6 separate regions of the Homo sapiens genome follow, and regions 2, 3, 4, 5 and 6 are each linked to region 1. Evidence: promoter capture Hi-C in 16 types of primary human blood cells and fetal thymus (Javierre and others, 2016). All regions are on one chromosome and are shown on one strand. Each heading gives the region's core, a stretch centred on a gene start or on the middle of the fragment in contact. The rest is flanking DNA. Distances are from core to core; before and after follow the strand shown.

Region 1 (2,700 bases), core at 132-2,631:
TCTGACTGTCCATTTATTACATGTGGACACTGCGTGTATAGATTTAAAAATTAATGTGAAAAGTAACATTTATTTATAAGGCCATGCAGAATAAATTGGTATATGCTAATAATATCCATTTCTTCAATTTACCATTTTTCTTAGAATACTAAATAAATTAGGGAGTACTGTGCTTTCCTCACGCTACAGACATGGTATACTGCCATACTAACCATAGATCACAGCATATGAAATATACTATGCACTGTTTTTAGAAGCTGAGTACTATACTTAAACTCCAATATAAATTCTAGTCTTCTTTGGAAAGTACTGATGCTACCGCTGCCGTTGAGAAATAAGATCATATAAAGTGAAATAATGAAATGAAAAGACCATATTTGAATTTACCTTGTGTATAATTCCCATATGATAACCAGATAAAATTTCATCTCAATTTCCAACTTCAAAACATTACAAAGTTAGGATTCCTTGAAACCCAATACTGCTTGTAAGTAAACTGCTCACACTGACAAAATGATAGATGAAGAGAAACATACAGGAAACATCGGGGAGTAAGAAATAAACCACCTATGACTCAAGTGGTGAAAGACATTTCACGTTCCATATATCTGGTTGCACTATTAAGGAAAAATTAAAACGAAAATATCAAAAAACTAGAAGCTTGGAGAGTTCCAACATATCTTCCATTTCATGCCTTCTCTTTATAACTAATTTAATTTTTTTTTTGGTCTATTTGAGGGATTTCTCAAAACAAAACACAATTTAACATTCGGATGGGCTAAAGCTGTCCAGGTAATAGGTGTCTGTGATTACTTTAGTCATGTAACTGTCCTTTCCGTAGCTTTGACTAAAACACCAGCAATGAAAACCTTGTGCCACCGGGTGGAGGGGGCAAATCGTCTTGAAAGCCTCCCACCGCCTGGCACCAGGTGCTGGGGCAGAGCCAAGGGGAGCTGTGTACTTAGCTCCTTTTTTGGCGATGGCTTTGGTCTCGGCCACTTGCCCCTCCGTCGGGCTCCCCTGGCCCCCTACACTTTCTTTCCCCTCATCCGACGCTCTCGCTCCCATCCCACTCCCATTCAGGGTCCACAGGGTACTGAAGGGGCCCTGAGAGATTTCCCGACCCACCTCAGAGCTTCTCTTCCTCGCCTCAACTTTCCCGGGGTCGGGCCTGGGAGACGGCGCCCACCCGCCTCCTCCACACCACGGGGCCCGACTTCCGTCCCCCAGTGTCGCTCATCCTCCCTAGCCACTTACCGACTCAAAATCCACGGGGATTTCGGGGCAGCAGCGTCGCCGCGCTCAGCCCACACGCGGAGGCCGAGCGCCCTGCTGCCCGTCGGGGAACGGCTCCTGCCGCTGGTCCGCTGGCTGACCGCGGTGGCGGCGGCGGGGGGCGAGGGGCGGGGGGCGAGGGGCGGGGGGCGGGGCGGGAGGCGGCTCCGAGGGGCACGAGGCGGGCCCAGGGCGGGCGCGGGGCGTGGCCTCGGGCGCTGAGCCTCGAGAGCAGCCGCACCCCTGCCGGGGTAGAACCGTTAAAAGGGTGGCGCGCGCTTTCCCGGGCGAGCTGGGCGCGTGGGGTTGGAGCGGCGCCACCCAGAGCCGGTCGTCTAGGGTAGGAGGCCGCGAGTGAGGCGCTGACAGGCTAGCCCTCGACGGGGCGCGCCCGCGTGAACGGCCTTGGGGGCCCCAGACCGTGGCCCTGCTTGTGCGAAGACTGGGAGGCGCCAGGCGGGCCGCCTGCTGGGGGCTTGGCGGCGGGTTCCAGGCAGCGTCTGTGAGGGAGGCCGCCTCTGTGAGGGAGGCCGCCGTCGTGCTGACGACTGAGTCCACCCTACTCCTGTCCCCCGTCAGAGCTGCTGGCAGGCGCTGCTTTCCCCTTGGTGCATTTAGTGGGTGTCGGGATTCGGGTTGGCAGGGAGGAAGATGTTTGAGACCTGGTTTACCTCAGACCAGGGATACAGCGTTTCACACAGACTGCCATCCTGAAAGGAACAAAATGAATTAAGGCAACTCCATCCGAATCATTTCTTTTTAATCTTCACCTTCAATCCTTTTGCTAATTTTTCATTATCTTTGAGTGTCCCCAGAGGGGGACTGTCTGCTTGTACTGAGGGACGTGGAGGTGGCAGTCCCTCACGTCCCCAAGCACCAAAAGGACAGTTGAAAATGCACTGGCAAACACTGAACGGTTTTAAGTGGGGCACTATCAGGATTTACCATTTTGGAAGGTATGAAGTTTCACAAGCACTTCCATGTATAGTCAAGTTATTGGAGCTGTCTCCGTTTAGAAATGGCTTCCAGAAACACTCCTACTATCCACTGAGACAACTCGCCTGGCATCAGAGACCTAGGGTCCAGGGTCAGAGATGGGTCATGATAAAAGGGCATCCCTTGGGGTGAGGCACCAGAAGTCTGCACAGTGGAATCAATATATTCCAACCACCAGATGTAGAAAATCTTAAGTGCAGGATGTGGTTCTCATCCATCTAGTCACAACAGAAGTTTTCTTCTTCAGGAATATACTTAACAATGAAGCATGTATAATTTTATATACATCTTACAATAAAATTATTTTGTGCATATCACTGTATGAAGTCAGTAGAAACTATTGTGACAAAAATGTAAATTGGAAGAATTCCAATTCAGATCAGTATTAGTAATTTATTGAGAGGAAGAGAGAAATTAGACTAGACAGAC
Region 2 (2,700 bases), core at 23-2,522, 1.1 Mb before region 1:
CAGAGGCAACCACATTTACCTCATTGTTTTTAGTTACCCCATCTGTAAACAATCTGCTCATGCTGTGAATTTTTGATGTCTCAATCTTAGATGTTGCATACTCACTTCCTGCCAAGATAGATGAAGATTTAACTACATTAAACCACCACAAATTTTCCCTACTCATAACAGCTAATAAATTATATCACTAGTCAGCATTGCACTTATTACATTTGCAACTTTAAATAATGTAACTCACAGTTCTTGCTTCAATATAAACAATCCCTCTTCACTTTGCCAGATAAGAATTTTGTATCCCTTACCCTTGTCTTCATCTTTGGTTCCTTTATTACACTATCATGCTTCACATTTACAACCTGTTTTGTAACTATAGTTAAGCAATTCTTGCTTTGCCTACAGGTGGACTGTATTTTTGAAAATCAGTAAAGGCTATTTATGCTACATCTGTGTAAACAGTATTCACTGTCCATGAAAGTTACCTTCTATGTCTCTATTTGTTTTTTGGTACAGCTTTTTGTCATATACCCTACTCAATTAAATTATAAATTGCCTTTTTACTTTGTCTTGAATTGTCTTCCTTTATGGCATCATTAGACTAGATTCTTCCAACATTTCCAGAATACTAGCAAATCCAGGAACTCCTTTTTTTCTACAGGCAGTTCTTACAGTCCTGAAGTCTTTCAATCTGGATAGACAGGCTTCCTGTTGCATAACTATCCTGGAACTTGCGTTCACTGCATTTCTGAATTTGTTCCACTGTTTCACAGACCCAATCCACTTCATTTCCTTCAACAAGTCCCTTGTTTTCTTGGCCTGTATTCTCAAGAAACATCCTAAAAAAGAATATTAGTGAGGCAAAGCTTTCTCAAAAGTTTGGGTTTCATTTTCTTTTTCATTCTGCCCACATTATTTTATCAATAGTTTGGCATGGTATAGAATTCCAAGTTCAGGAGGCGTGGTGGCTCACACCTGTAATCTCAAATCTCAATATTTTGGGAGGCTGACGAGGGAGGATGGCTTGAACCCAAGAGCTCAAGACCAGCCTCCGCAACACAGCGAGACCCTGTCTCTAACCAATTTTTTTTTTTTAGGGGGAGTTTTGTTCGTGTCTCCCAGGCTAGAGTGAAATGGCGTGATCACGGCTCACTGCAACCTCCGTCTCCTGGGTTCAAGGGATTCTCCTGCCTCAGCCTCCCAAGTAGCTGGGATTACAGGTGCCCGCCACCATGCTCAGCTAATTTTTATATTTTTATTAGAGACGGGGTTTCACCACGTTGGCCAGGCTGGTCTCGAACTCCTGACCTCAGGTGATCCACCTGCCTTGGCCTTTCAAAGTGCTGGGATTACAGGTGTGAGCCACCGCACCCAGCCCTGTCTCTATAAAAAATAAAAAAAATTAGCTGGCATGGTGGCTTACGCCTGTAGTCCCAGCTACTCAGAAGGCAGAGAGGGAGGATCACTTAAGCCTAGGAGGTCAAGGCTTTAGTGAGCCATGACTGGGCCATTGTACAGCAGCCTGGGCAACAAAGTGAGACCCTGTGTGGACCAAATTAAAAAAAGGAATTCTAAGTTTAAAGTCATTTCTCCTAGGAACTTTTAGGGTTTCTTGTATCTTAACACTCACTCAAAAGTTTGTTGCCAGCCTGATTCTCATTCCTTTATGGAGTACTTGAACTTTCTTCCTAGAAGCTTTTAGAATCCTCTTCATTCTTGCTATCCTTAAATTTCATGATATATCTATGTATATACATATTTTTCTTTTTTCTGTTCAGTACTCAGTAGGTCTTCTACATTTGCAGAATCATGTTTCCCTTTAGTTCTGAAATTTTTTTCTTATTAAGCAAGTTTCATCCAACCACTTTCTCTTCTCTAACTTTCAGGAACTTCTACTATTCTGATGTTGAAAATGTAAATTCTTAGGATTTATCTTTTCTTTCTCTGTTGTTCTCTACTTTTCCTCTTTTCTTTAATCTTGTAGTAATGCAAATTGAGCCTACCAACTGACCTTACAGACTATGAGACAGAGAAATAAATCTCTCATGACTCATGTTTATTCTTTCCACTTAGTTAAAAGGTTTACCCAATATCAGCCCAGCTGGGTTTAGTGGGTGAGTGCTACCTATGACTGTGAGTATTCATTCCTACTACAAGTCAAGATTCATTCTCAGTGCTGTGTATATAACAGTGAACAAAGAAAAAAATTCCTGACTTCTTGAACTGACTTTGTAGTAGAGGGACACAGACAATAAAAAATTAAAATGTTGCATGTCCAGTATAATTCTGGAGTCAGCAGCTGTAGCTGCAGTTTTCTGATTTTGTAGGCAGCTTTTTGTTCAGAGACAGGCAGCAGCTTCTTTGGTGGCTTGCTCTTATAGTGTGACTCTAGGAATTTTTCTCAGAGTTCTATGTTTCTTCAGCCCTCCTATGATTCAGCAGAATATGTAATACTTGTTGAGAAATTCTTTTTATCTTTAAATTATAGAGCACATAGAATGATTTCTATGAATTCTATTCTCTGTAACTGAACCTGACTGCTACAATAGTCACAAAAATAAATTGTACTTTTCAGCAAGAAGCCTCCTTGGTATTTTTCTTTCTGTCCTCTGAGACCAAACTCTAGGGGCAAAGCTCATTTAAGTTCCCAGCACAGCCCCTACCTCAATTTTGTATGTACTCAGGGAAGCATTCCTACTATTTGCC
Region 3 (2,700 bases), core at 66-2,565, 1.1 Mb before region 1:
TACAAGTTACAAACAGTCCCTGATTAATCATGGTTTCACTTAAGGTTTTTAGGTTTTAAGGTGGTACCAAAGTGATGTGCATTTCATACAAACTATACTTTGGGTACCAATGCAACTGTTCTGTTTTTCACTTTCAGTATAGAATTCAATAAGTCACATGAGGTATTCAACACTTTATTATAAAATAGGCATTTTGTTAGATGATTTTGCCCAACTGTAGGCTAGTGTAAGTGCTCTGAGCACATTTAAGGCAAGCTAGGCTAAGCTTTGATGTTCAGTAAGCTAGTTGTTATTAAATGCATTTTTGACTTAAAATATTTTCAACTTACAATTGGTCTATCAGGACAAACCCTACTGTAAATTGAAGAGCATCCACATCATGAATTATGTCAAATAATTTGCTTCTTATCTCTGATTGGGGCAGGGGATTTTGCTTGTTGCTTTGAACTTTGGAAAATGACATACAGACTAATGCAAGTTTTTCATAACAGTTATGTTTTAGCTCTGCTTGTGAGTAGGAAAACACATAGAGTGAAATGTCATCTGTTACTTAACCTAGATGTAAGATGACTTTGTTTAGCAAAAGACAGATCTGAATTATTTTCAGCTGTTAGGAAAATAGCAGTGTACTAAAATTCATGTCAAGATGGCATGTATAATTTTAAGAAGCATAGATATTAGTTAGGCCTGTAATATCTCAATGATTGCCATGAAAATAATTCAGTTGATAGTTATAGATTATAATTGTGAGATAAAGTAGTCCAATTTTCAAATATCCACATTTTAATACCTTCATTTAATGAAAGTTTATCAAGCAGTGTATTTGAGCAGACACTATGCATGGCACTGGGGAAACAGAAGTGCATTAAATATAGTCTCTGCTCTCATGGGACTTCTTCCAATTTTTTGCTAAAAAGTAACTCATGAAGATTTTTAACTAAAAATAGTTTTTTTTTTAAGTGTTAGGATAATGTATAGCTAAGACAGTCCAGCAGAATTAAAAAGCTATAAAAGCTTACTAGGTAGATAAGTAATAATCATGGAAACTGAAAGTAGTATCCTTATAGGATATTTTTCCTTTTCCTTTTTTAGGAGCCTAAAAGGGGATCGAGTTATGCCAGAGGAAATAGCTCGCTACTATAAACATTATGTAAAAGTCATGGGTCTTCAGAAGAATTTCAGAGAGAATACTTACATAACTTCCGTATCAAGACTCTACAGAGATCAAGATGATGATGATATTCAAGACAGAGATATTTCAACAAAGCATTTACAGATAGAGAAGTCAAACTTTATCAAGAGAAACTGGGAAATTAGGGGTTATCAGCGAATAGCTGATGGTTCTCATGTTCCCTTCTGCCTCTTTGCTGAGAATGTAGCGCTGGCAACTGGAACGCTGGATTCTCCTGCCCATCTGGAAATTGAAGGGGAAGATTTTCCTTTTGTGTTTCATTCAATGCCTGAATTTGGAGCTGCTATAAACAAAGGAAAGTTGCGTGGCAAAGTGGATCCAGTGTTAATTGTAGGTTCTGGGCTTACTGCCGCTGACGCAGTACTGTGTGCTTACAACAGTAATATCCCTGTGATTCATGTGTTTCGCAGACGAGTAACTGATCCAAGCTTAATTTTCAAACAGCTTCCCAAAAAGCTGTATCCTGAATATCATAAAGTCTATCATATGATGTGTACTCAGTCATATTCTGTAGACTCAAATCTTTTATCTGATTATACCAGCTTTCCCGAGCACCGTGTGCTTTCCTTTAAGTCGGACATGAAATGTGTTCTCCAAAGCGTTTCTGGATTGAAGAAAATATTTAAGCTGTCTGCAGCAGTAGTATTGATAGGTTCTCATCCTAATCTGTCTTTTCTGAAGGATCAAGGGTGTTACCTAGGCCATAAGTCAAGCCAGCCAATCACATGTAAGGGTAATCCTGTGGAAATAGATACATATACCTATGAGTGTATTAAAGAAGCCAACCTTTTTGCATTGGGTCCTTTGGTTGGAGACAATTTTGTTCGATTTTTAAAGGGAGGGGCGCTGGGTGTTACACGCTGTTTAGCTACAAGACAGAAGAAAAAGCATTTGTTTGTTGAAAGAGGAGGAGGAGATGGGATAGCTTAAAGCAAGTTTACAAGTAATTAAAATGGACAGTTTGCCATTAAAGATTTTTAATAGTGGTTTTGCAGTGTACTGGCTTGAATTTTCTGGACTTGAGTTAACTGAAGGAGAGCCTCAAACTATAGTAACTTCATTTTTAAAAGTTACTAGAATTTGGTATCCTGATTTATATTGCAGTGTTTCAAAGGTGTCACTGTCAGACAAATAGAAACACTGCCAACTTGGTGTAACTTAAGCTTTCATTTAACTAAAACATTCTTTTCTTGCAAAACTTATTTTTCATGATCATTTTTGGTTATTTATTATACTTGATTCCAAAATAGTACAGCCTTGAATCTATAAAACTGTGCAGTCATTATGCCAGAAATTATCTTAAATATATAATGGGTCACCTTGCTGTTCAAAGGGTGGTGCAAGGTCCTGCAGCATCTTACATCTGTAGCTTGTTAGAAATGTAAACTCTCAGGCCCCACAACTTACTTCCTGCATTTTAACAAGATCCCCAAGGGATATGTATGCTCATAAAAATTTGAGACACTGGTTTAAATGAAAATGGATATAAGGTATGTATAACTGGGGGT
Region 4 (2,700 bases), core at 1-2,500, 1.0 Mb before region 1:
TTAAACATAAAATCTCCTACTTGCAGTTTTTTACTAATAAAGAATAATTCTATACCTTTGGAGCATATCCATTATTGACTGAATCCATTTCTTCTGACAGTCAGGAATTAAGGTCTGTGAGTTTGTTATTCCTGTATCAACAACACACGTTCCCGGAGCCAAAAAGAAATTATGTTCTTCTTCATTCTCTTCTGTTATCAACCTAGCTTCCCCACCTCCAAAGACAACTGCGGAACTCAATTTCTTATGCTAAAAATGGAAGGAAACATTTTTTAAAGTAAAATGTAGTAATTTTTTGAACACATAAGAATTTGATTTGGGAAACATAGAAGTACAATTCAAGAAGACTTGGTGCTACTTCTTGAGTAGGTCATTTCAGCTTCCACTTTGAGAAAGTCCCTAGTTCAACAGGTCTCTGCGGCCCTGGAACTGTTACACTCTCTGTGGTTCCTCATCACACTTCCTAACAGCACTCTAACTGTGGGCTTATCTGCATTTCTCCACTACAACATAAACTCTTGGAAACCCCACTTTGGTACACAGAACATATTCAACTGATTTAACTTCTTTAGTGAGCTTACTAACTAAAGAGGTTTAGCTTACTAACTAAAGAAGTTAAAACTAAGTTTCCTGTCCTTCTCACTTGCATATTTATGAATAGGCCAGTTATCACAGATTTTAAGAAACCCCGTAATCACAGCCATGATCACTGGGCAGGTCTGGTGCCTGGGGTTTTTTTATTCTACTTCACACTTTTACACAAAATCCCAAAATGAAATACGTTAACAACTACTGATAAGAGTTAATAATGTATCCTAGTTTGTAATGTATTCTTTAGGAAAATTTAGCTTATAACATAATTACCTGTTTGGCATTCAAAAATATAAATGTTTTCCCTTTGAAGATTTGTTTTCTTTCCTGCCGTCCTGACAGATCAACATTTTTACTTCCAATAGATGGTTCATCAAGAGGTGGGTAAAAACTGTAAAAATAATTAAAGTATATTCTAATTATATACTACTATGTTTGCTATTAAATTGTAAACGGAGTGACTATCTGACACTCAAAAGGCATAATTTCCATAATACCTTTATAGTATTTTTTTTAAGTAAGAATTTTATCTGGGACAAAATGACAAAAAGCATCTAATCGCGTTTTCTAGAAATATGGTGGCAGGTGACACAAAGAAGAGCTAGAATTGATCATTAATATCTCAAAATAAATAATCCAAGGTAGACAATCATAACAGGATGAACATTAAACACACATGACTCAAACAAGGTGTCTGAATTACAAAAGTTTGAGAGAAACATCATCCATAAAGATCAAATTCTATTAGCATCTTGTGTTTACTTAGGAGCCAATATCTATTAAAACGCTCATGTTTCAATTCTACTAGCACAATCTATTATGAGTGTTTTGTTAGAGATCTCTTTGGAGAAGTTCAGGAAATTTTTAAACTTACATTATTTACTCAGTTCAAATAAAATTTCCAAAACAAGACTAAAGAATATAATGTTTTAGCTCTTTAATTTAATGCTATAAGAACATCTTAATCATCCATGAAAATAAAGGAAAATAAGAAATGGAGAAATATCAACAGATAATTCTTAAGCCTCTCATCAGTCTAGAGTTTCAACTTCCTGTATAATCAGATCTTTTGCTACAGCTGTTCATAACTGACCGGCATTTCGACTTGTCTCTCTTCCTTTCAGTAAAAATTACTAACCCATGATGATGATGATAAGGGGACAATGTAGGGAGGGAGAAATTCACAACCTGGACAATCAGTCACAAATCAAGAGTTAACTATCTGCAGAGATCAACATCCAACGTGGTAAAAACACTGCAGTCATTAAGAGTCACTATCCAGCACTTTAGAACTAATTACCTTACATCTTTCCCCTGGACTTCTCCTTGGAAACATACATATTTCATAAAGTAAAGCTAAGTTATGATTGAAGAGTTACAATACTTTAAAATTTTTTTGATAACTGATGCATGTATTTTAATTTCACTACAATAGATGCTGTAAGTCTGTTTTAAAGCAATGATTTCTGGAAGCTGCAATCTCAAATGAGTTATCTGCAGGCAAGAGCAGACTCACTTGGCAGGACAGAATGCAGGCAACTGCGTTAGTTATGGTTTTTCTAAACAACCGACTTTAAAATTCTATTTATTTTACTTTTAAAATATACAGAGAACAGTGGAAACTATTTTAACTGTTAACAAAAACTAAATCTACAATAAGAGCACTGGAAAGTTAGTAGACATTCGGACACATAAAAAGGATCAATTTTAATATCTCTTTGAATCCTTTTTATCCTTTATCTCCTAATAAATATTCCCCCATAACTTATACTTCTTTCTTAGTGTAAAAGCCAACTAACACTTTACTTATATACAAATAACTAGTTTACCAATTAGTTCACACAATAATGTAACAACACTAGGACAGATTACAGAGCCAGTTACAGACAAAAACAGTAAGGAAATGTTTAACACATATGACTGTGTGTTACAGTCAAACATGACTATAAAACTATGACTGAGTAGATGTGAGATTCTTCCTGCTTTCCCAAAACACTAAAGTTGAATGATTTTTAAATTATCTACAGCTTTCTATTATTCACACTGTCATTCTTAATTATGCCATAGATAACAGTTTACAGTAGCCAGGGAGCAGCTAACTGTAGCTTA
Region 5 (2,700 bases), core at 83-2,582, 1.0 Mb before region 1:
AGATCAGAATATTAAAGTTTTACTTCATCAGGTCTGTGCTCTCATCTAAAGAGCTAACAAATCTACAGATAAGTCAACTTACTGATGTATACAAAAAAGAAAATAATCTCAGGTGTTTTCATAGATCAAAGTGGGTAAGACAAATTATCAACAGTCATGAAAATAGACAAGGACATTACAAAACCTAAATGAAAATGAAAATTCCTAGTGATGTTATATCCTAAAAATTTATTGAGTAGATACTTTGTTTTACTAACTTCATCTTTCTGTGCCTGTTTCTTATACTGAAGCATCTCCTACACTTATCATCATAGCCAAATGTCTTTTATAATAGTACAGCCTAATTTGGAAATCTAGTAAAACAATCTCATATGAAAGTTTAATTTGTGGTCATTTATTTTACACTACTGAAGAATCACTGTACTTTTAACATTTACCATTTACCTTATCAACCAACAAATTTCTATAGTACTGAGTGTTAAAGACATTAATGGATGCTCATACTGTCAATACAAAATCGAAAGTACCTGTTAGCATTCTAAGCTTCTATGTACTATACCTCTCATTTAAAATGTTACTTACAGATATTTTGCTACTTTCTGGTACTGCTTCATCACTGAAAGTGTCATTTGTTTCTATATCCATCCTTGGCCTTTTTCTAACATTGACATCTTCCTCCTGTTTTTGAACTTTCACATCAATTTCTAACTCTGGTTTTGTGTCCTTGAATAACTGTTCCAATACTTCATCTTCTATGGCCACATCATCCATTTCCCTTTTTTTATTTGATCTTAGCTTTTCTGCAGCATGAGATTTACTGGCAGAATTTTTCACAATAGATTTTAAATCTGTATCTGTAAATAAGTTATTGTCTGAGTTTGTGTCCACAGGCTCATTCTCAGATAGATGCTGCTCCTTATTTTTCCACAATGAGGGTGTAGCAGGTTGTGTTTGTTCTAAAAGAGAACAAGACGTTTCTATTCTTGCTGATTTGCATGAAGACATTTCTTGATTTTCTTCATCCCTTTCCCTTAGATTTAAAAAAAAAGAAGAAAACAAAACAAGAAAATGAACACAGCTAAGTAACCATTTAGTTTGGCAATATTCATCACTCCCTCCATTTAGTTCACAATGTACTCTTGATTTTATTAACAATATTACTGGAAATCAACAAATAGACCTTTGAAAACAGTGCAGAACTCACATACATTCTGCTGTTTTGATAGAACTGACGGACCCTGTGGCTAAAGCAGTACGGTGATCTCTATCTTCTCTGCTTAAGTTGCATTAGTTGATAAATTACAGGAAAAGGTAGAAAAATATAAAAATACAAAGAAACTGTTGCCAAGAGACAGCAACTTACTTTATAACGTAGTAAGGTTGTGGGCAGGGAAAACTGCCCTGGGAATACAATCTGATGGGTTAATGAGAGATGGATTCAAGACAGTAAGTCAGAGTGACTAAATCTACAATACGGTACTGACTGTATACTGCAAATGCTATGTGAATATATCACTAAAAGTTTCCTATACAATACTGTATCATTCATTCAATAAATACCAAACACTTTATGCAAACTGTACTAAGCCCATAGAGGACACAAAGACCTGGGACTCTGTTCTCCAGGAGTTTATTGGATTCATGTTGAACAAGAACAGTCAACCCAATGTTCTATTAACACTAATTTAATGCCAAGGTACTGGACAAACCAACCAATCGAGAGGTTTTTGTAATAATTTAGGTGGTCAGAGTTTGAACCTGGCAATAGATGGAAATGGAGGGATTGACAGACACTGAAAATAACAATCAATAACACTGATTTCAGGAGCCAGAGGACAAGAGTCAAAAATTGTAACAACATAAGCTATTTTACTAAAAAAAAAAAACAAAACCACATTTGGTGAGAGGACAGAAAAAGTTTTTAGGTCTATTACTGGGGAAACAGCATGAAACCCCTGTGGAAAAGAAGTAAAGTTTAAAGGAAAAGTTAGGGCCACATATGTTGATTGTCAGTAATAAAGTCTCAAAACCTGAAGGTAGAGTATAAAGAGCAGTACGGGGAAGAAAAGAAGTCCTCCAAAGTTCATACAGAAATGGGAGAAATAACATCATCTTTTCTGAGAAGCTTAACGGGACGGCACAAGAAAAAAGGCAGCAGTAGCTAGAGGAAGAAACCAGGTCAAGAGAAGGTTTTCAAAAATAAAGGTGAGATTGAACTTTTGAAAACAGAAGAAAAAAATCTGGGATGATCAATATATTCAAAATATGGAAATTGAGAAAATAATTGATGGAATATGGTCCTAGAGGGAGTGAGAGCGGTTCTCAAGGAAAACCAGCAGAAATGTGATTTTAGAGCTGAGACAGGGGGTTAGTTCTTATTGAAGAGAATTGCGGCAAGTAAAATAACACGTAAGTACATACATAGAAGGAGATGAAGGAGAAACTGTCTAGTGGCTCTAGTGAAGGAGATCAGGGACATTTCTGAGAGGGAAAGCGGTCAAAAAGCTGCAGCAGCAGAAGCATACTTAATCAGAACAGACTAAAGACAATACCATTCTACAACAGTATAAAAAACTTTCATTTTTTTTTCAGAGACATGAGAGAAGTTATCAAAAACAGACCTTTTTTTGGTAGACGGCTGAAAGTAGTTTCTGATGGAGTTGGTCTGCTGCTGCTGAGAAGCCCTATCTTTACTTTTAT
Region 6 (2,700 bases), core at 112-2,611, 1.1 Mb before region 1:
CTACTAGACCTAATATATAAATTCAACGGTGTTGCAGGATGCAAAATCAACATACAAAAGTGAATTGTATTTCTGTACATTAACACTGAATAATTTAAAATGAAATTAACAAAGGTATTTCATTTATATAATAGCATCAAAAAATGAAATACATAAGAATAAATTTAATAAATGCAATACTTATGCACTGAAAACTACAAAATGTTGAGAGAAATTAAAGGTCTAAATAAATGGAAAGGAATTCTATATTCATGGATTGAAAAACTTAATATTCTGTTTTTTCTTTTAAGTACAGGGATGCAAGTTCAGGTTTCTTACATAGGTAAACATGTGTCATGGGAGTTTGTTTCATCACGCAGGTATTAAGCCTAGTACCCATTAGTTCAGGGGTGTCCACTCTTTTTGCTTCCCTGGACCACATTGGAAGAATTGTCTTGGGCCACACATAAAATACACTCACATTGATGATAGCTGATGAGCTTAAAAAAATGGCAAGAAAATCTCATAATGTTTTAAGAAAGTCTACGAATTTGTGTTGAGCCACATTCAAAGCCATCCTGGGCCGCATGTGGGTTGAACAAACTTGCATTAGTTGTTTTTCTTGATCCTCTCCCTCCTCCCACCCTTCATCCTCGGGTGGGCCCCAGTGTGTGTTGTTCCCCTCTGTGTGTCCATGTGTTCTCCTCATTTAGCTCCCCCTTATAAGTGACAACATGTGGTCTTTGGTTTTCTGTTCCTGTGTTAGTTTGCTAAGGATAAGGGCCTCCAGCTCCATCTATGTCCCTGCAAAGGACCTGATCTCATTCTTTTTTGTGGCTGTATAGTATTCTATGGTGCATATGTACCATGTTTTCTTTATCCAGTCTATCATTGATGGGTGTTTAGGTTGATTCCATGCCTTTGCCATTGTGAATAGTGCTGCAGTGAATGTACACGTGCATTTGTCTGTATAATAGAATTATTTTTATTCCTTTGGGTATATACCCAGTAATGGGATTGCTGGGTGGAATGGTATTTCTATCTTTAGGTCTTTGAGGAATCACCACACTATTCCACAATGGCTGAACTAATACACTCCCCCCAACATATAAGCATTCCCTTTTCTCCATAACCTTGTCAGCATTTGTTATTTTTTGACTTTTTAATAGCCATTTTGACTGGTGTTAGATGGTGCCTCATTGTGGTTTTGATTTGCGTTTCTCTAATGAGTGATGTTGAACTTTTTTTCATATGATTGTTGGCTGCCTGTATGTCTTCTTTTGAGAAGTGTCTGTTCATGTCCTTTGCCCACTTTTCTGTGGGGTTGTTTTTTCTTGTAAATTTAAGTTCCTCATAGATGCTGGATATTAGACCTTTGTTGGATGCATAGTTTGCAAAAATTTTCTCCCATTCTGTTGGTTGTCTGTTTACTCTGTTGATAGTTTCTTTTGCTGTGCAGAAGCTCGTTAGTTTAATTAGATACCATTTGTCAATTTTTTTTTGCTTTTGTTGCAATTGCCTTTGGCGTCTTCCTCATCAAACTCTGCTTGTGCCTGTGTCCTGAATGGTATTGCCTAGGTTGTCTTCCAGGGTTTATATAGTTTGGGGTTTTATATTTGAGTCTTTAATCCATCTAGAGTTACTTTTTGTATGTGGTATAAGGAAGGTATCCAGTTTAGATCTTCTGCATATGGCTAACTAGTTATCCCAGCACTATTTATTGAATAGGGAATCCTTTCCCCATTGCTTATTTTTGTCAGGTTTGTCAAAGATCAGATAGTTGCAGGTGTGTGGTCTTATTTGTGGGTTTTCTCTTCCATTGGTCTATGTGTCTGTTTTTGTACCAGTACCATGCTGTTTTGGTTACTGTAGCCCTGTAGAATAGTCTGAAGTCAGGTGAGGTGATGCTTCCCGCTTTGTTCTTTTCACTTAGGATTGCCTTGGCTATTTAGGCTCTTTTTTGGTTTCATATGAATTTTAAAATAGTTTTTTCTAGTTCTTTGAAGAATGTCATCGGGAGTTTAATGGGAATAGCATTGTATCTATAAATTGCTTTGGGCAGTTTGTATGAATTTGCATAGCCATTTTAATGATACTGATTCTTCCTACACATGAATATGGAATGTTTTCCCATTCCCGTCGCCTCTGATTTCATTGAGCAGTGGTTTGTGTGTGTCATCTCTGATTTCTTTGAGCAGTGGTTTGGAGGTTTCTGATCAAAATGACTTTGATCAGAAGCCTCCAAAGGTACAGGAGAACCTAACCTTTGCACATACTTTGGAGAAATACCAGGGACAGAGCAGAATATAAAACATGTTAAATGCAGTTGCCAAGAGGTAGAAGCGGGCATGGGCAAGACAGCTGAGGCATCTGGATCTGATCAGAGGCAGTAGTTGGAATGAGTCAGAAATAGATGGATTGAGCATATAAAACTTCCTCCCAAGGGTAGGCTTGCACTGTGAGGAGGGGTTTCCCTTAGTAGCCATGTCTGATTGGTGTCTGTTTTGGTCAAAAGAGGCTATGTAAGGGGAAACCAAATATTTGGGGTACAGGTTACTTTCTTTGCTTCAAGAAAGCTCTCAGTATGTCCTGAGGAAGTCTCGCCTATCCTAGGGTAGACTGGGAACTCTGAAGGTTATAGGGAAGTAGAAATGCCTGTCTCTGCCTGATTCTTTTCTGTTTATCAACCTCCTCTGGGATCAGTGAGTTCAATCTTGTGAA

What was found. The method cuts DNA at HindIII sites, captures the fragments that hold promoters and counts their contacts. A CHiCAGO score of 5 or more calls a contact.
Region 2: a contact is called between a fragment that was not itself captured here and the fragment with the promoter of C8orf88 in region 1, in 5 of 17 cell types (fetal thymus, monocytes, non-activated CD4 T cells and 2 more). The highest score is 12.5, in fetal thymus.
Region 3: a fragment that was not itself captured here is called in contact with the fragment with the promoter of C8orf88 in region 1 in 6 of 17 cell types (fetal thymus, neutrophils, naive B cells and 3 more); the score reaches 7.0 in fetal thymus.
Region 4: a fragment that was not itself captured here is called in contact with the fragment with the promoter of C8orf88 in region 1 in 1 of 17 cell types (fetal thymus); the score reaches 8.1 in fetal thymus.
Region 5: a fragment that was not itself captured here is called in contact with the fragment with the promoter of C8orf88 in region 1 in 5 of 17 cell types (fetal thymus, non-activated CD4 T cells, monocytes and 2 more); the score reaches 6.9 in fetal thymus.
Region 6: a fragment that was not itself captured here is called in contact with the fragment with the promoter of C8orf88 in region 1 in 5 of 17 cell types (fetal thymus, non-activated CD4 T cells, total B cells and 2 more); the score reaches 14.4 in fetal thymus.

What each region holds. Positions count from the first base shown.
Region 1 is chr8:90,983,857-90,986,556 of GRCh38, forward strand. C8orf88 (chromosome 8 open reading frame 88) reads right to left here and starts at 1,382. Exons shown (of 6, transcript NM_001190972.2): 1 at 1,258-1,382. RefSeq lists a silencer at 1,406-1,565. The HindIII fragment of the contact is 2,363 bases long and covers 659-2,700 here.
Region 2 is chr8:89,887,520-89,890,219 of GRCh38, forward strand. It overlaps LOC124901974 (a long non-coding RNA gene), which reads right to left. Exons shown (of 2, transcript XR_007061001.1): 2 at 1-2,700. Among named protein-coding and RNA genes, the nearest start is that of OSGIN2, 14 kb to the right of the region's middle. The HindIII fragment of the contact is 829 bases long and covers 859-1,687 here.
Region 3 is chr8:89,923,411-89,926,110 of GRCh38, forward strand. It overlaps OSGIN2 (oxidative stress induced growth inhibitor family member 2), which reads left to right. Exons shown (of 6, transcript NM_001126111.3): 6 at 1,093-2,700. The coding sequence ends at 2,122. Among named protein-coding and RNA genes, the nearest start is that of OSGIN2, 22 kb to the left of the region's middle. The HindIII fragment of the contact is 606 bases long and covers 1,013-1,618 here.
Region 4 is chr8:89,970,309-89,973,008 of GRCh38, forward strand. It overlaps NBN (nibrin), which reads right to left. Exons shown (of 16, transcript NM_002485.5): 6 at 865-982; 7 at 56-249. Among named protein-coding and RNA genes, the nearest start is that of NBN, 13 kb to the right of the region's middle. The HindIII fragment of the contact is 5,697 bases long and covers 1-2,700 here.
Region 5 is chr8:89,952,662-89,955,361 of GRCh38, forward strand. It overlaps NBN (nibrin), which reads right to left. Exons shown (of 16, transcript NM_002485.5): 10 at 2,622-2,700; 11 at 583-1,030. Among named protein-coding and RNA genes, the nearest start is that of NBN, 31 kb to the right of the region's middle. The HindIII fragment of the contact is 1,582 bases long and covers 542-2,123 here.
Region 6 is chr8:89,905,810-89,908,509 of GRCh38, forward strand. All of the region lies in intron 1 of OSGIN2 (oxidative stress induced growth inhibitor family member 2), which reads left to right. Among named protein-coding and RNA genes, the nearest start is that of OSGIN2, 4.6 kb to the left of the region's middle. The HindIII fragment of the contact is 6,258 bases long and covers 1-2,700 here.